Linked DNA regions of Homo sapiens: region 2 is linked to region 1. The links are contacts of gene promoters, found by promoter capture Hi-C in human tissues and cell types (Jung and others, 2019). All regions are on one chromosome and are shown on one strand. The core of a region is centred on a gene start or on the middle of the fragment in contact, and the rest is flanking DNA. Distances in the headings are between cores, read along the strand shown.

Region 1 (5,043 bases), core at 2,191-4,690:
ATAAAGCCCTGGCCCCCTGGTTCCATATCCACTCCTCTCTGCAGTCAGACACTGCTCTATAGTATCTCTTCCAAACACCACATTGTTAATGTTCAGAAAAGAATGTTAAGAAGTTCCAAAAGATCTTAATTAAGAAAAAAATAAGCCTCTGCAGGAGCCGAAGGGACTGAGCACTTTGGCAATTTGGAGATGGCTAATGACGGTTCTTACACAGTTGTTGGGGGTAGGGAGAGCATTCTGGGACAGTCTGACAGAGGAAGTCACTAGACTTCTAACTTTAGTAAACAGGTTCTCTAGCTTGGAAGTAGAACTGGTAGCTCAGCATTTACTGGGCTAGAAAACTTAGGAAGTTTCAAAGGGCACTGTAAATCAGGTGAAGGCTGACTATTTTGGTTTATAGCTTATATTATCTGAGAAAGAGCTATCAGAAAGGTAGGTTATTGAATGATCATAGCTTTCCCACAGTAGTCAACTTAAAATATTGTGTTCCTTTTTGTGACAGAAATTCTGAAACATGAGCTGGTATGCTGGCGAGTGCCTACAATCCCAGGTACTTGGAGGGGTTGAGGCAGGAGGATCCCTTGGGCCCAGCAGCTTGAGTCCAGCCTGGGCAACATACTGAGAGCCCATCTCCAAAAAGAAAACCATTCTCAAACATGCATGAAATGTAAGAAAATAAACCCCTATGACACATCATTTGGCTTCAAAAATTATCAATATTTTGCCATTCTTATGTGCTTGACTTTTTTTTTTTTTGAGACAGAGTCTCACTCTTTAGCCCAGGCTGGAGGGCAGTGGTGTGATCATAGCCTACTGTAGCCTCCAACTCCTGGGCTTAAGCAATCCTCCCACCTGAACCTCCAGCTGGGACTACAGACTCACGCCACCACACCCATCATATTTTTACATTTTTAGTAGAGATGAGGTCTCCCTTTGTTGCCCAGGCTGGTCTAGAACTCCTGGGCTCAAGCAATCCTCCCACCTGAGCCTCCAGGTTACATGGGACTACAGACTTACTCCACCATGCCCATCTAATTTTCACATTTTTAGTGGAGATGAGGTCTCCCTATGTTGCCCAGGCTGGTCTAGAACTCCCGGGCTAAAGCAATCCTCCTGTCTCCACCTCTCAAAGTGCTGGGATTATGGGCTTGTACAGCCTGGAGTGCAGTGGCACCTTCTTTTTTTTTTTGAGACGGAGTTTCACTCTTGTTGCCAAGCTGGAGTGCAGTGGGATGATCTCGGCTCACTGCAACCTCCGCCTCCTGGGTTCAAGTGATTCTTCTGCCTGAGGTTCCTGAGTAGCTGGGATTACAGGCATCCACCACCACACCCAGATAATTTTTTGTATTTTTAGTAGAGATGGGGTTTCACCATGTTGGCCAGGCTGGTCTCGAACTCCTGACGTCAGGTGATTCACCTGCCTCAGCCTCCCAGAGTGCTAGGATTATAGGCGTGAGCCATTGTGCCCAGCCCAGTGGGCACCTTCTTAACTCCTTGTAGCCTGGAACTCCTGGGCTAAAGCCATCCTCCTGTCTCAGCCTCTCGAGTAGCTGGGACTACAAGGGTACGCCACCACACCTGGGCTAATTTTTAAAACTTTTGGTAGAGACAGAGCCTCACTATGCTGGCTAGCCTGTGCTTGACTTTTAAATATGTGTTTGTGTAAGGCTTTCTTTAAAAGCTATTAACTATACTATTTTAGCAAATATACATGGGAAATTATCAAGGAACAATAAAATGATCTTGTTCCAAGCACCATGAACTTGGAGCCTTTCATTTTTTTTCATTCAGGGTGGATATGAAGAGCAGCTGCTGACCTTGTTAAGGTAGCCACAGAAATGACTGAAGACTTAGAGGTGGGAGTACACAAGCTTGGAACAAGATTTTGTTCATTCATTCCTACAGCCATTCAACCAGCATATTCTGGGCACTTCTCATGCACACTGGCCATCCACCAGGGAGACAGGCCATGCTTAGACATAGGCTTATTGCAAATCATGTTTTATCCTTTCTTGGCTCTAAGACTGGACAAGTTCTGCCTTTCAGCTTCACCTTCCTCATCTATAAAGTAAGGATAACCTTGAATGGGGCACTGATAGAATTAAAAGTGAGATAATTGGTCGGGCGTGGTGGTACATGCCTGTAATCCTAGCACTTTGGGAGGCCACGGTGGGAGGATCACTTGAGCCTAGGAGTTTGAGACCAGCCTGGGCAACAAAGTGAGAAATTATCAAGGAACAATAAAATGATCTTATTACAAAGAAAACCAAATTCTCAAACATGCATGAAATATGAAGAAAATAAACCTCCATGACAATCATTTGGCTTCAAAAATTATCAGTATTTGAACTTGGAGCCTTTGATTTTGATTTTTGCATCTCTACAAAAATTACAAAATATGAGCCGGGTGTGGTGGCGGGTGCCTGTAGTCCTAGCTACTTAAACTGAGTTGGGAGGATTGCTTGAGCCCTGGGAGGTCGAGGGTGCAATGAGCCATAATCGTGACACTGTGTGTGAGACTGCCACACACACACACACACACACACACTAGTGAGGCTACGCACTCAGAAATGCACATGAACATCACTGGTATTCTGGAACCCACGTGTCGTTTGCCACTGTTATCTGTTAGGCTTTAGGGCTTGACGACAGAAATCATCAGGCAGTCTCTCTTTCCTCTTATATTCCTTTCCCAATCTAAGGGGGCAGCAAAAAGCTCAGAGGTCCACCGTAGCATGCAACATGTGAGATGCCTAAAGCCCGCCCCCATCGACGACAGCATTCATCCATCTCCCGAATTCATCTGGGTCATACTCTCGAGTTACCCGGCTTTCTTGAGGTCTTGCAGCTCTACAAGGATAATCTGTGGCTAAACTTTGCTGTCGTCCAAGGTCAAATGTTTGGCTCACAGGTTGAAGAGCCTCCCATGGCACCGTCGTTTGGTCCTGAGAAGGGAAAGGCGCCCAGGGGGCGGGCTGCTAGAGCACGAGGCAGCTGTCTCCCAGTCTTCCCAAACCCGTAGCCGAGGGGGCGTTTCTGCGGCGCAGGGGCGGGCACAGCCGACGCCTCCCTGCTCCACCTTCTGTGTCGGCGCCTAGACTCGGATAGTGAATTTCGGAAAGTTTCACTCGGGTTCGTGCACGTGGGCACCTCCGGACCCGGCCTCCTTGCCGCGCGCTCTGCTACCCTCTCCATCCAGCGGCGCAGGCGGCCCTCGCCTCACCCCTGGGCGTAGCTCTGGGCTCCCTTTGGCGTCGCCAGCTTCGCCTCCTCCCGCCGCGTCTCCTCCCGCCGCGTCACCCGTCGGTCCCGGCCGCGCTCGCACGCGGTGCGCAGCTCCCGGGCTCCAGGCGGCGGCGCGTAGCGGGCGCCCCCGAGGCGGCGGGCCTGAGAGGCGGGGACGGGGCGTGCCGCCGGCGCCCGGCTCCCGGAAGCGGCTGCTTCACAGGCTCCAGCCGAGCGGACAGGCGTGGCGGCCGGAGCCCCAGCATCCCTGCTTGAGGTCCAGGAGCGGAGCCCGCGGCCACCGCCGCCTGATCAGCGCGACCCCGGCCCGCGCCCGCCCCGCCCGGCAAGATGCTGCCCGTGTACCAGGAGGTGAAGCCCAACCCGCTGCAGGACGCGAACCTCTGCTCACGCGTGTTCTTCTGGTGAGTGTCCCCGCCCGAAACAGGTCACCCTGCAGCCGCTGGCGCCGCGGACGCACTCTCCCGGGGCCGCGCCCGATGCTGCCCAAGCCCTCTGCGGCTGGGGGCGAGGGGAGCGCTTTCCTACGCCACGCGGTCCACGCCGGGGCTTTCTGCTGCGGGTGGCGCCGCCCCCACGCCGGCCGCGTGGTCCCTGCCTGCGCCCCGGGGCGCGGCGCAGGGGGACGCGGGGACGCGGGGCCAGTGGCTTTGCTACTGGAGGCCCTGCGGGCCCTTAGGGCTCGGGGGAGGAGGAGCAGGAGGTGGGGAGGCGGGGAACCCAGGCTGCCGAAAGGGGGAGTCTCTTGCCCAGCGGGAGAAGCGACTGCACCCCTTACACGCCCACCCTTCGCTGGCTCCCGCCTCCTGCTCTGGGACTCGCAGTCTCCTGAACTCAAACGCACCTTTTCCTTTCTTTTTAAGTAAGCAGCTTACGAACAGTTTCCTTTATCTGATCTCAGCCAAAGCCTAATTAGTGTCCTGGACCTATGCCATCTCCCAGTAGTGTCCCCACCCCTTCCGATATTCCTTACGAGACAGCTCGATCCAACTCCACGTCCCGTTGTACCTCTCTGTGTCCCGGTGTCTCTGTATCTTTTGTCTCAGTGACCAGGGCTCTCCTTTTGCCTCTTTGTGGGAATCTCACTGTGTGTCCATGTGGGTCGTGGTACCTAGTTATGGCAAGTTTCATGTGGGTAAAATAACACTATTATTATTTTTCATTTATGAATGGGGACCCTGTTCTTGAACAAGATTTTCCAGGATTTGCTTTTAACTGGGACATGCACCGCCACGACTGGAGTCTGTCTTTGACCAGCTTCTTTCCCCTGTTTCCAATACTTTCACTTCCACGTAGGAGGACAGCTCGGAGGTGGGGTCCCTGGAATCGCTAACCTTCAGAGAGGTGATCCATGGTCTTGATGCAGGTGGTTCCTACCAGGAGTTCTACCTTCTTAAAACCACCCCAGGGCTCCTGAGCTGGGAGGGCCCACAGCCCTACCCATTTTGTGCAAGGAAACAAACGGAGAAAGACTCGGGTGACAGTAGTAACTAAAATTTCCATCTTGGCCTGGCGCGGTGGCTCACGCCTGTATCCCTGCACTTTGGGAGGCAGAGGTGGGTGGATCACGAGGTCAGGAGTTCGAGACCAGCCTGGCTGACATGGTGAAACCCCGTCTCTACTAAAAATACAAAAATTAGCCGGGTGTGGTGGAGCACGCCTGTAATCCCAGCTACTCAGGAGGCTGAGGCAGGGGAATTGCTTGAACCCAGTAGGCGGAGGTTGCAGTGAGCTGAGATCGCCCCACTGTACTCCAGCCTGGGTGACAGAGTGAGACTCCGTCTTGGGGGAGTGGCG
Region 2 (5,256 bases), core at 63-2,562, 160 kb before region 1:
TCAAGAGGTAACTTGGGTGCTCTTGAAAGCATTCAGTTGTATGCATTCACAAAGAGATGATTTGGAATTGTAACTTATATTTAAATGGGAAGCAGAGCATAAAGTTTAGAAAATTTGCAGCCTGACAATGCAATATAAAAGAAAACCCCATTTTCTGGGGAGAAATTCAAGCAGGCTGGAAAAATTTGCATAAGTAATGAGGAACCAAATGTTAGTCACCAAGACAATGGAGAAGATGTCTCCAGGGCATGTCAGAGGTCTTCATGGCTGCCCCTTCCATCACAGGCCTGGAGGCCTAGGAGGAAAAACTGGTTTCATGGGCCAGATCCAGGGTCTTGCTACTTTGTCCAGTCTCAGGACTTGGTGCCCTGCATCCTAGCCATGGCTAAAATGGGCCAATGTACAGCGCAGACCATTGTTTCAGAGGGTGCAAGTCCCAAGCCTTGGCAGTTTACACATTGTGTTGGGCCTTCAGGTGCACAGAAGTTAATAATTGAGGTTTGAGAACCTCTGCCTAGATTTCAGAGGATGTATGGAAATGCCCAGATGTCCAGGAAGAAGTTTGTGGCAGGGGTGGAGCCCTCATGGAGAACCTCTGGTAGGGTAGTGTGGAAGGGAAAGGTGGGGTCAGAGCCCCCACACAGAGTCCCTACTAGGGCATAGCCTAGTGGAGCTGTGAGAAGAGGGCCACTGTCCTCCAGACCCCATAATGGTAGATCTACTGACGGCTTACACCATGCACCTGGAAAAGTTGCAGACACTCAACGCCAGCCTGTGAAAGCAGCCAGGAGTGGGGTTGTACCCTGCAATGCCACAGGAACAGAGCTGTCCAAGGCCATGGGAGACCACCTCTTGCATCAGTGTGACCTGGATGTAGGACATGGCGTCAAAGGAGATATTTTGGAGCTCTAAGATTTAATGACTGCCCCACTGAATTTGGACTTGCATGGGGTCTGTAGCCCCTTTGTTTTGGCCAATTTCTCCCATTTGTAACAGGTGTATTTACCCAGTGCTGTACTCCCATTGCATCTCAGAAGTAACTAACTTGCTTTTGATTTTACAGGCTCATAGGTGGAAGGTACTTGACTTGTTTCAGATGAGACTTTGGATTTGGACTTTTGGGTTAATACTGGAATGAGTTAAGAATTTGGGGGACAATTGGAAAGGCATGATTATGTTTTGAAATGTGAGGACATGAGATTTGGGAGGGGCTGGGGCAGAATGATGTGGTTTGGCTGTGTCCCCACCCAAAATCTCATCTTGAATTGTGATCCCCATAATCCCCATAATCCCTGTGTGTCAAGGGAGAGACCAGGTGGAGGTAATTGAATCATGGGAGCAGTTTCCCCCATGCTCTTCTGGTAATAGTGAGTTTTCACAAGATCTGATAGTTTTATAAGAGGTTCTTCCCCCTTCACTCATCACTTCTCCTTCCTGCTGCCTGTGAAGAAGGTGGCTTGCTTCCCCTTCACCTTCCACCATGACTGTAAGTTTCCTGAGGCCTTTCCAGCCATGCAGAAGCATGAGTTGATTAAACCTCTTTCCTTTATAAATTACCCAGTCTCAAGTATTTCCTTATAGCAATGTGAAAATGAACTAATACAGCCATGATCACCACTGCACTCCAGCCTGGGTCACAGAGCAACACTTTGTCTCAAAAAACAAAACAACAAGAACAACAAAAACACGGAGGCTATTTCTCTACCTCTTGACTCTGTGTTTGGCCATATGACTTGCTTTGACCAATGGGATGTCATAGACATGATACAATCAGAGGTCTACACAACCACTCATGTAATTGAGCTTGTTTTGCTGTGTTTTTGCCATGAAAAGTATATGCTCAGGCAAGCCTACTGTTCTAGGAGGTAGACAGGTAGAGCAGAACCAAGTCACCCCAGCCAACCTCATCTAAGGTCAGCCAACCCCCATTAGACCCCAGGTGCATAAGTTGAGTCCAGTTGAGATCAGCAAAGTCCAGCCTAGATTAGCTGAACTTCACAGGTACAAGAAATGAATGTTCATTATTGTTGTTGACCATGAGGATCTGTGGTTGTTGGTTACATAGCAATTTTCTGACAATAGCTAACTCACAGGTTGACTTATTTTCAACATACCCTAATGAGATGACAGAGATTGCTGCAGATATGCCCAGTGCAGTTTTGGCTTCCTAGAGGGTCTTCAAGAGAGTACACCCTAGAAAAAGGGCAGAAACCATCACTATATACCCAGGCTGCCTCTTCTGTTTGGAAGAGATTCTTATTTGAAAACCATTCATATGCCAGGCTAGTGGCATCCCCAGCGAAACTGAGGGTCAGAAAATAATATCTGATAACTGGGAAGAACTAAGGTCATTTCTAGTTGCAGAGTATCTGAAACTCGAGTAGGAAACTAGAGAATGGAACAAATAGTGGTAGCAACAGGGAATCCCCCTACATCAGTATGTGATTCACCAAGTACAAGGTCAAACAGATAACCACAACTGCTCTGTCAGTTCCCAAGACTGCACAGAACACAGAGCCCCAGCACCTTGCTTTGGTCCTCCCTGAGTTTCTACACACCTGGCTTCTCAACGAAAGAGGATCCATTTGCATACGAAACAAACTCTGCAATGTAGAAGATGGCTGTTTGATCTGAAGCAGATTTTGTAAGCTTGTGCAATGGTAAGAACATAATTTAACTCAACAATTTTTTTTTAGTAACTTATTAATGCTGAAAACTGGAATAATCTCCAGAGATGTGGATGGACTAGGAATTGGATCTGCCTCCATATGCCAGGGTTAAGACATAGTCCTGCTAAAGAAACAAGCAAATGCATACACAACAACAGAGGTGACCAGAAGATGGGTGCAATAAAATGCTTCTGGATCACAGGAACACTTGCGGGACCGAGACGCAACAGGAAGGCTGTGGGAGGAAGTGCTTTTGCAGAGGAACATGATGAGTTTGGTTTAGGACCTATGCTATTTACAGCCTGGCAGAGACTCCATCTGTCTTACATATTTGTACATATCAGCTCCATCTTTTTCCTATTTCTCATTCTGCTTCAATCCTGCCTGCAAATTTAAATCTCCCTTGGAGAATAGACAAAATAACTTGCTTTTTTGTGATCTGTCTTTACAAACAAAGCAAAATGCCTTATGCATAGGAGATGCCTAATGAATGTTTTCATTTTGTTTTTGTTTCATTTTGTTTTGTTTCGTTTTGTGCAGGGTCTCCCTCTGTAGCACAAGCTGGAGTGTAGTGGCATGATGACAGTTCACTGCAGCCTTGAATTCCTAGGCTCAAGCAATCCTCCCATCTCAACCTCTTAAGTAACTGAGACTAAGCTGTGCTCCATCATGACCAGCTAATTTTTTTTTTAATTTTTTGTGGAGACAGGCGTCTTATTATGTTGCCCAAGCTGGTCTTGAACTCCTGGCCTTAAGCAATCCTCCTGCCTCAGCCTCTCAAAGTGCTGAGATTACAAGAGTGAGTCACCATGCTAGGCTGATTTTTGTTGCATGAAGGAATAAATACATATTTGAATATTCTTGGACAGGGGTTTCACCTCTGCTTCCTGGAGTTCCTTAGAGAAAAGTGGGGTGGAATAGGAGAGTAGATATGGGAAAGGGGTTGGGAGATTTGTGGAGACAAGGAACAGACAAGGAATAGGTAAGAAAGCAGCGTTGGCAGAACCCAGAATTAAGATTTTTGTGAAAGTAAAGACAGGGAGTAAAGATGGGAGACGATTTACTTGGATGTGCAGATAGCAAGTGTAGTTTAATACCTACAAGATATGAAATTAAAAGTTTCACCCCAAATGATACACAATTTTATTGCCTCTGGCATCACAATAAATAAAAGCCTCTTTCAGCTTTTTTGTACCTGCCTCTGGCCTGATGCAGTCATTTTTATTGCACTGGATGGCATCTGTATTTATTATCAAACCAGGGGATTTCTGCTAAGTCATCTTGAAGTCTAACTTAGCTAGCACAACATGCTGTTTCATAATTAAATTAAAATTGCAGGATGTTTTGGATTAGAAGAATCTTCCTTCAGCCAGGCCTGAGGTTGGTAAGGGAGTGTGACCTGTATGAAATAGAATTCCCTCATCCAAAACATCCGGAACATTTCACTGGATTAATTTGTAACTCACTGGGAGATTTTTAGTTCAATTTGCTAAAGATTTTCTGTTTCCATTTCTCTTTTCAATTCAGGTCAATATACAGTTATTCAACTCTCTTATTGAAAATGATATGAAAAGTGTTATTGAGTCCAAAGAATAAACAAAATGAAAGGTAAAATGCAAACAAAGGAAGAAATGTAATGAGTGAATAAATAAGTTCTTTCATGAATAAAGAATTTATTCATGAATAAATAAATCCATTCACCCAACAAATGAACTTACAGAACCCTTATTTTTACCATGCACGAAGCTAAGTAAGTACTGTGCAGTGGAGGCAGAACTATAAGCCACAGTTTCTGTTCTCTAGGATTTTAGAATTTTGTTTATTATAGAAAATTTGCCATTAGACAGTTTAAGTCCAATTTATATTGGTGTTTTAATTCAATCAAAAACTTCACAAAGAAATAAACCATGAACAATTCCCTTACACCTTTAAGAAGACATTAAACACCCTCTGTGGGAAAAGCCTAACAAAATCACTTTTTTGTACTTTGCACCACTGGACAGGATATGTATATATTGGCTAAACAGAATCCTGTGGCCACTGGCCAATAGGCTGCAGGAAGAGAATTTTAAAATAGTTTTTTTTTTTTTTTCTATTAGAGGCTATAGAAAATAATCCTTGACTGGGCATGGTGGCTCGCCTGTAATCCCAGTGGTGCGATCATGGCTCACTGCAGCCTCTAACCCCTGGGCTTAAGCAGTCCTCCCACCTCAGTCTCCAGAGTAGCTGGGATTACAGTTGTACTCCACCACACCCAGCTAGTTTTAAAATGCTGAGGTCTCACTACGTTGCCCAGGCTGGTCTCCAACTTGTGGCCTCAAGTGATCCTCCTCCCTTGGCCTCCCAAAGTGCTGGGATTGTAGGCATGAGCCACCACGCCCAGCCAAGATGTTGTTTTGACTGGACTTGCAGGCTTGTGACTCAAACTTGATTGTAAAGGGGTGGAAATAGGCACCACACCTCCCCCAAAATATTCATTTGCATTTAAAAACCAGAAGCTGCCTATAAAGTGGGACAGCATCTTTGCCCTCAGTATATCCTCAGATTCATGAATTTTCATAGGAGTCAAGAAGTTTTCTGAAAGGGC

Evidence for each region. The method cuts DNA at HindIII sites, captures the fragments that hold promoters and counts their contacts. A contact is called where the count stands out against the background at its distance.
Region 2: a fragment that was not itself captured here is called in contact with the fragment with the promoter of ABCC4 in region 1 in 1 of the 25 tissues and cell types used here (H1 embryonic stem cells).

What each region holds. Positions count from the first base shown.
Region 1 is chr13:95,299,848-95,304,890 of GRCh38, reverse strand. It overlaps ABCC4 (ATP binding cassette subfamily C member 4 (PEL blood group)), which reads left to right and starts at 3,440. Exons shown (of 31, transcript NM_005845.5): 1 at 3,440-3,650. The coding sequence starts at 3,577. It overlaps LOC102724149 (a long non-coding RNA gene), which reads right to left and starts at 3,940. Exons shown (of 3, transcript XR_429273.4): 1 at 3,628-3,940; 2 at 2,565-2,945. RefSeq lists silencers at 2,935-2,994, 3,175-3,234, 3,265-3,904 and an enhancer at 2,721-3,495. The HindIII fragment of the contact is 21,021 bases long and covers 1-5,043 here.
Region 2 is chr13:95,454,703-95,459,958 of GRCh38, reverse strand. It overlaps a transcript of CLDN10 not described here. Among named protein-coding and RNA genes, the nearest start is that of CLDN10-AS1, 77 kb to the left of the region's middle. RefSeq lists an enhancer at 2,269-2,328. The HindIII fragment of the contact is 9,460 bases long and covers 1-5,256 here.